2 separate regions of the Homo sapiens genome follow, and region 1 is linked to region 2. The links are contacts of gene promoters, found by promoter capture Hi-C in human tissues and cell types (Jung and others, 2019). All regions are on one chromosome and are shown on one strand. Each heading gives the region's core, a stretch centred on a gene start or on the middle of the fragment in contact. The rest is flanking DNA. Distances are from core to core; before and after follow the strand shown.

The links. The method cuts DNA at HindIII sites, captures the fragments that hold promoters and counts their contacts. A contact is called where the count stands out against the background at its distance.
Region 1: a fragment that was not itself captured here is called in contact with the fragment with the promoter of RABIF in region 2 in 1 of the 25 tissues and cell types used here (spleen).

Annotation. Positions count from the first base shown.
Region 1 is chr1:202,172,049-202,175,939 of GRCh38, forward strand. It overlaps the pseudogene PTPRVP. Among named protein-coding and RNA genes, the nearest start is that of PTPN7, 13 kb to the left of the region's middle. The HindIII fragment of the contact is 7,981 bases long and covers 1-3,891 here.
Region 2 is chr1:202,887,577-202,891,422 of GRCh38, forward strand. RABIF (RAB interacting factor) reads right to left here and starts at 1,573. Exons shown (of 2, transcript NM_002871.5): 1 at 1,397-1,573. The coding sequence starts at 1,522. It overlaps KLHL12 (kelch like family member 12), which reads right to left. Exons shown (of 12, transcript NM_021633.4): 12 at 3,544-3,846. RefSeq lists a silencer at 979-1,268 and an enhancer at 1,339-1,608. The HindIII fragment of the contact is 13,847 bases long and covers 1-3,846 here.

The DNA.
Region 1 (3,891 bases), core at 1,343-3,842, 710 kb before region 2:
CTTGGCACCAGGAGGGCAGCCAGAGGTCACCGGGCAGTCTTGTTGACTTGGGCCCGGACAATTCCAGCCTGACTCTGAGGAGTCTGGTGCCCGGCTCCTCCTATGCCATGTCAGTGTGGGCCTGGGCAGAGAACCTTGGCTCTAGCATCCAGAAGATCCACCCCTGTACTTGTGAGTTCCTGGCTGCAGCCTGTGAGAGGCCAGCCCCAGGTGGTGGGCTGGGGGACTGGCATCCTCTACTCTGCACTTCTGTGTGCCATATATATATATGTTTATATATCTATAATTATATATTATATATAATTATATATTATATATAATATAATTATATCTATAATTATATATTATATATAATATAATTATATATCTATAATTATATATTATATATAATATATATTATATATAATATATAATTATATATAATTTATATAATATAATATATAATATATAATTATATATAATTATATAATATAATATATAATATATAATTATATATAATTTATATAATATAATATATAATATATAATTATATATATTTATATAATATAATTATATATAATATATAATTATATATAATTTATATAATATAATTATATATAATATATAATTATATATAATTTATATAATATAATTATATATAATTATATATTATATATAATTTATATAATATAATTATATATAATATATAATTATATATAATATATAATTATATATAATTATATATAATATATAATTATATATAATTTATATAATATAATTATATATTATATATATTATATATTATATATAATATTATATATAATTATAGATATATAAACATATATATATATTTTGAGATGGAATCTCGCTGTGTCACCCAGGCTGGAGTGCAGTGGTGGGATCTTGGCACACTGCAACCTTTAACCCCTGGGTTCAAGTGATTCTCTTGCCTCAGCCTCCCGAGTAGCTGGAATTACAGGCGCCTGCCACCTTGCCTGGCTAATTTTTGTATTTTTATTTTATTTTTTTAGTAGAGATGGGGTTTCACCATGTTGGCTAGGCTGATCTTGAACTTCTGACCTCAAACAGTCTGTTCACCTCGGCCTCCCAAAGTGCTGGGATTACAGGCATGAGCCACTGTGGCTGGACTGTGTGCCATATATATATATATATATATATATTTTTTTTTTTTTTTTTTTTTTTTTTTCCAAGACGGAGTTGCTCTATCACCCAGGCTGGAGTGCAGTGGCATGATCTCAGCTCATTGCAACCTCCGCCTCCAAGGTTCAAGCAATTCTCCTGCCTCAGCCTCCCGAGTAGCTGGGGTTACAGGTGCCTGCTACCACACATGGCTAATTTTTGTATTTTTAGTAGAGATGGGGTTTCACCATGTTGGCCAAGCTGGTCTCGAATTCCTGACCTCATGATCTGCCCACTTCAGCCTCCCAAAGTGCTGGGATTACAGGCGTGAGCCATCGTGCCCGGCCTTGTGTGCCATATTCTTGACTCAGAAGGCCATGAGTACAAGATGAGGCCTTTCATGAATCTATTTGCAAGCAATTTCTACCTCCTTCCATCTGGTTAGCTATATACCCACCATCTATCCACTGTCCATCCATCCATCTATCCATCCACCATCCATCCATCCATCCCACAATTATTTAATGAATGACTCCCATTTTCTTGGCATGAAACCAGTTGCTGAGGCCAAAAATGATGAATAGTCCTCAGTGCCTCAGGAAGACAAGTAAACAGATGGCATATGTGTGTGTGTGTGTGTGTGTGTGTGTGTATATATGATTTTATATATCATAATACCTGTTAATGCACTAATTGGAATGTGCATAATGTATTAGCTTGAACCATATGAAACTCCATTCCTATTGGTTAAAATGGCTGAATCTCAGGAATTTTATGTGGTTCAGTCTAATCTTCTAGGACTCACAGAAGGGACACCTGCTTAAAAAGTCAGAGGAGGTTTCCCGGAGAAGAGTGAGCTGAGTGAGAGCAGGCTGGTGGGGGGCAGGGTGGGGTCCTGCCCAGGGTCATCTGCTGGGGCTGGGGAGGATGGGTGGAGAGGACCTTAGCAGGAGGCTAAGTGTGCACCAAGGTCCTCAGGCCAGAGACAGACTGGACGGGAACTGAACGTCAGCAGGTGAGCTGGAGACCGGGGCCCTAAGAGGTGTGACAGGGTTGGCGCCATGCCCTCAAGGGGCGGACAGTCAGGGAGGAAGCGGGGCAGCAGGTGTCTGGGCAAGCATCTGTTTAAGAGGGTTTCCTGGGAAGGAAAGGAGGGTGGCCTTTGAGCCCTGTGGAAGTGGGGGTTTTAGGTGGGGAGGGCTGGGAGCTTGCCTGGAGACTGAGGAGATGGGTGTAGCTCATGGGGAGGAGAGGCAGGGAATTCAGGTGACTCCACATCTGTTTCTTCCTTGTCCTTCCCCCAGTCCCTGCTCCTCCTGCCAACTTGAGCCTGAACCTTGCCACCCAGCCTCCTGCCCTGAAGGCTTCCTGGAGTCCCCCACCAGTGGGGGAGGGATGGCTTCCAGGTGCAGCTTTATAGCCTGAGGCCTCTGACTCTGGAAAGGGCGGACACTCTGGCCGCAGAGGTCCAGAACTTCTCCTGGGCCTAGCTGTCACCGGGCACTGAGTTCCTGGTGCAGCTGACCACCCTGCGGGGGCTGGATCAGAGCAGCAGCACCAACGCCACAGGCTGGACACATGAGTGCCTTCTGATGGCCCTCCCCTACCTTGCTCCTTGGATTCCCAGGGGGCTGCATGTCCCCTTGGCCTCTGTGGTCTTCAGGCAGGCAGCTGGGCTGATGGTGGGGCATGTATCAGCTTAGGGTTGTTCCCTCGGTCCCTAGGCACTAGGTAACCCCACTCCCCTCACTGGGACTCCCCCAGGGCCCTGGCCCTTTAGGCCTTCTAGAAGGTGGGCAGATCCTTCTTAGAAGGCGTTTGCTCACTTGTACGGCGGCACTGGGCATGATATTCCTCATGCTCTCTCATGGCTGGCAGTAGGGAGGTGGGTGGTAGTGGGCCACAAGTGGTTAATCATAACAATAGCAAGGCTGGGCGCAGTGGCTCACGCCTGTAATCCCAGCACTTTGGAAGGCAGAGGCGGGTGGATCACTTGAGATCAGGAGTTTGAGACTAGCCTGGCCAACATGGTGAAACCCCATCTCTACTAAAAATACAAAAATTAGCTTGAGGTAGAGGTTGCAGAGCTGAGATTGCACCATTGCACTCCAGCCTGGGTGACAGAGTGAGACCCCCTCTCAAAGAAAAAAAAATCATAACAGCAATAGCTAGCGTTTACTGGGCACTCAGCCAGGTCTTCTACCTGTGTGCTCTCATTAAGTCTCATAACACCAAGCCTAGGACGTAGTTACTATGGTTTTCTCTGTTTCACAGATGAGGAGACTGAGGCAGAGAGACAGAAAATAACTTGCGCCAGGTTCCTCAGCACAGTGGGGAGTTGGGATTGAAGCAGGCAGTGTGACCAGCTCCATGCTCCTTGCCTTTACTCAAGTGCAGGACACACAGTGAGGTTTTCTCCTACCCGGAAGCCCTGGGGGCCTGTAGAGTTGGTTTGGGAAGCCCCTCTCATGAGGCCTGAGTCTTCCTGCTCTTTCTGCCTGCGGAGCCCTTGGTGGAGCTGAGGGATAGATGGGCCTCCCCACCCTGAGCGCATCCCTCTCCAATGTGGTGGCTCCTTCTACCCCTACCCTGGGCCTCCCCTCCCAGCCTCCTCCTGCCCCTGTCACTGTTGTCTGGATCTTGCCTGGAGTACAGGCTGGGAGGGAGCTGGAAGGAGGTCACCCTGGAAGTCAGGAGACCTGGGTTCTAGCTGGGGCTCAGCCCCTAGAGCAAACCTTGGCCCTCTTTGAGCCTCAGTGTCCCCATTTATAA
Region 2 (3,846 bases), core at 323-2,822:
AACCTCGGCTTCCCAGGTTCAAGCGATTCTCCTGCCTCAGCCTCCCGAGTAGCTGGGATTACAGGCTTGTGCCACCACCCCCAACTAATTTTTGTATTTTTTTTTTTAGTAGAGATGGGGTTTTGCCATGTTGGCCAGGCTGGTCTCACACTCCTGACCTCAGGTGTTCCGCCCGCCTCGGCCTCCCAAAGTGCTGGGATTACAGGCATGAGCCACCGCGCCCAGCCTAACTGTTTTAATGTTAATGAATGATAGTCAGGACTCAATTCCATGTATGTTTCAATTCCAAGATCCATGTTCTTTCCACTGACTCCATAATGCCACTAACTTCGTAAAATTAATTGAGAACTCTACTCCTAAACCTTGAAGTCTTAAAAGAACCCCGGGACCTCCACCAATCTCTAGATCAAAAGTCATCAAAATACCTACAAAACAACAGACACAGATTCCCTTTTTTCCTCCTTTGATGAAAGGCTGTTTTGGACGAATGGGTACCTCTTGCTCTTCTACTAGACATTACACTTCACCATCTGTTCAAGCACGTGAAATAATAAAATGATCTGCATATTTTTAGAAATAATTTTGAATGATAGGATGTGTCTATGGTTGAAATGACATTATATTTGCACTTCAACACAGTTTACCGAAATAAATTTTTTTTTCAACTTTCTCACTTGCGATGATGGTGGTAGGAAGGGTATTAAAATCCCTAAACTGAAGGGAAAAAAAAAGTTTTTCTTCGAAATTTACTTCCAGGACGTCAGGGATCTACTGCACTTGAAATATGATTCATCTGGAAAACCACAGGCTTCCAGTGCCTCGGTAAAGTGGGTAGGTTACCAGGGTTATTTTGCCGCGTCCCCAACACCAGTTGTTCCTGGGGATCCTCTGTGGAGCAGATAGGTGCCCGTCATAAATGAGACGGTGAATTCAGGACTGGCGGGTGAGGTCTAAAGTGGGAAAGGAACCCAGCAACACCCGCGGTGAGCGGCGGCCGAGAGGCACCTGCCGGGTCCTGCAAGCTGGCGGGAGCTCCGAGAGCCGGAATGGGGCGCCTCCCTTCCACGCGCCCGCGGAGCACCGGCCTTGGACGGCGGCGGGGCGCACGGCCCGCGCTCGAAGCCCCCCCGGGGGCAGAGGGCCGGGCTGGCTGGGCCGGGTGGCCCAGGGAAGGGTTCCCGCGGCAAAAGATGCCGGGGCGGGACCCGGTTCCCTCCCTAGCCTTCAGCGGCCCCAGGGGCGGAGCCTCGCCGAGCTGAGGCCCGAGGGGCGGGGCTTAAGGCCGCGCGAGGAGGGCGCGGTTGCCGGAAATTGAAGAGCCGGGGTTCAGATTCTGACTGCGGCGGCTCGTCGGGGGAGACTGTGGGTGTAAACGGCCTCCAACCTGCCTCCCTACCTGTCGGCGAGAGAAGAGAGCGGTCCCTGGCTGCAGCACCCGGGAGCCGCAACGCTGGCACAGCACCGCCTTCCGGTTTCGGCCCTCGGCTGACACTAACTCGCTCGGCTGCTCCGCTGGTTCCATCGCCGCTGCCGCCACAGGCTCCTCAGCCACGGCTGCGCAGACGCTGTCTCTGCTGGCTCGTTATTCACTGCGCTGGCGCGGCTTGGCAGAGGCGGGGCGGCGAGCGGACGGTCACTATGTCTCTGCGCAGGCGCCCGCTTCCCCGCTCTGGACTCTACTGCGCAAGCGCCTTCATTCATTGCCTAACCTAAGTGGCTAGGTGTCGGCAGGCTTTGTGACAGGGACACTTCTTGGCACCAGTGACACATCTCCATACCCACCTGGCCACTGGGCTTCACTTAAAACCTAGACAAATCATTAGGTTGACCTTACTGTTTAGTTTTCTGGGATCTGAATTTAGTCTCCTGAATAAATGGGGACATTATTGGGGGCAATATGAAGGGAATCTGGGTCGGACTTCCCATCAAGTTTTAGCCACATTAGCTTCTTCTATAGGAAACTACTTAGAGGGGCATGTATCTTTTCGGTATTGGAAAAAGATGCGTGGAAACTTTAATTGCTGGTCTCTTCTACTCATTGTGACCATTTACTATGCGGCAAAATGTGTCAAAGCGCCTTTAGAAACTTACTAAATCATCAGTTTCCTTACGGGGTCGGCACGCTTGTGCACAAAATGAGAAAGGTAAAGATCAGAAAGGTTGCAGCACAACTCTAAAGCCACTGCTCTTAATTAACTAGGATTGTCAGGAAAGCAAGATTATTTCAGACAGAACAGTATTATATATGAACAAGGGTGAGAACAAATTTAGGAATGGTTAGTAGACCACTGTGGCTGACCCACATTACACGTGGGGAGAAGTGGTAGTAGAGGTAGGTAAGGCAGAGTGGGCCCAGAGCTCCATGGCTTTAATGTCATGCTAAGGAATTTAACATTAATAACATGAACAATGGGAATCTGTGGAATTTTAGGCCAGAAATAACTGTTCGATATTTACTGTCTGCTGTATGTTAAGCACTGTAATGATCCTATCTGTGCTTCAGAAAGATAACCTATGAATAAATAGAGGGGCTAGATTGAAGAGAGGAAAAAGAGTAGAGGTAAGGTATCAGGTAGCTATTACCTCATCAGTCTAGCTCAGAAAGGCCCTGAAGCTAGCAGAGGGAACAAAGATATGGGAATGGACTTGAAACAATTAAAATTGTACAGAACTTAGAAACTAGCTGGATGTCTGTATTGTGATGGGGGTGACACAAAGCAACTGCTGGTTTTCCCAGGTTAGATAACTAAGTAGCTGGTTGCCAGTTATGGGAGCTTAAAAAAATAAGATGAACCACCAAATTAGGGGTATCTCTGTGTATGTATGTGAGCACATGAAAGTGTGTACGATTGTGAAGAGTGAAAAAGGAGCTGTTTTACGTGTTGATTTTTCTGTAGAACATACCATTGTGGCTTCAGTGTATGAACTATTTGTGAAGTTGGTCTGAAACTCATTAGTCAGCACTGAAGACAGCATAGGAGCCATCAGTCCTTCACCCTCCCCTGGATCTCTTCCTGAGATAGGAAAAGTCACGTTTTATAGGCTTTGGTTTAATTAGCATGCACAATCCATCTGCCAAAGTTGGTAGGCATCTTTTAAGGAAAATAACTTCCTCATGTGGCTCCTCCTTCCTTTTGCTCTGGAAGCATCAGGACTGTTTCAGTTTTGCAGGCCTTCCGCATAGCTGTTTATATCACATGCCACAATTCAAAGCAAATGGAAAAAAGGACTGGTGTGACTGAAACCCTGAAATTCAAGCGCGTGCTAAGTGAATTCAAGATCTTTTCTGTATTCCTTTTTCAAGTAACTCCAAGCGTCAGAGGGGCTAATGAATATGGCAAATCAGGTAAATATTTTACTGATGAGAATCTCCAAAGTGTAAAGTGGCTACCTCTTACCTGTGTCTAACATAGAAATAGCGGAACTAGTTGGCAAACACACAAGATGAACAGCTTGAAGAGACAGGAGCTACGGCTGATCCCTACATCTTTCCCTCCCAAATATCTACTAAAGGCAATGTTGGTTAGCCACAAACTCTCGGCATTTGAGACCGTTGATTTTTAATATTTTCTTAAAAAAATACAAAGGAAATTAACTCTGTAGGTCAATACAACTCAGGGAAAGAGGGAAAAATGGAATTTCAGAGCAAAGGTTGTTTAGGTTATCACATTCCCACACTCCTAATACCCACAAAACAAGAATTTCACTCCATGACACAGAGGAACATTGAATGGTAGCTCAGAAATGTTGATAGCTGAGGTACTGAAACTAACAAAAGGATTTTGGTTGTCCTTGATTATTCTGTCCTGTGATGAATAAAATCTACACTAAAGGACAGGTAAGGAA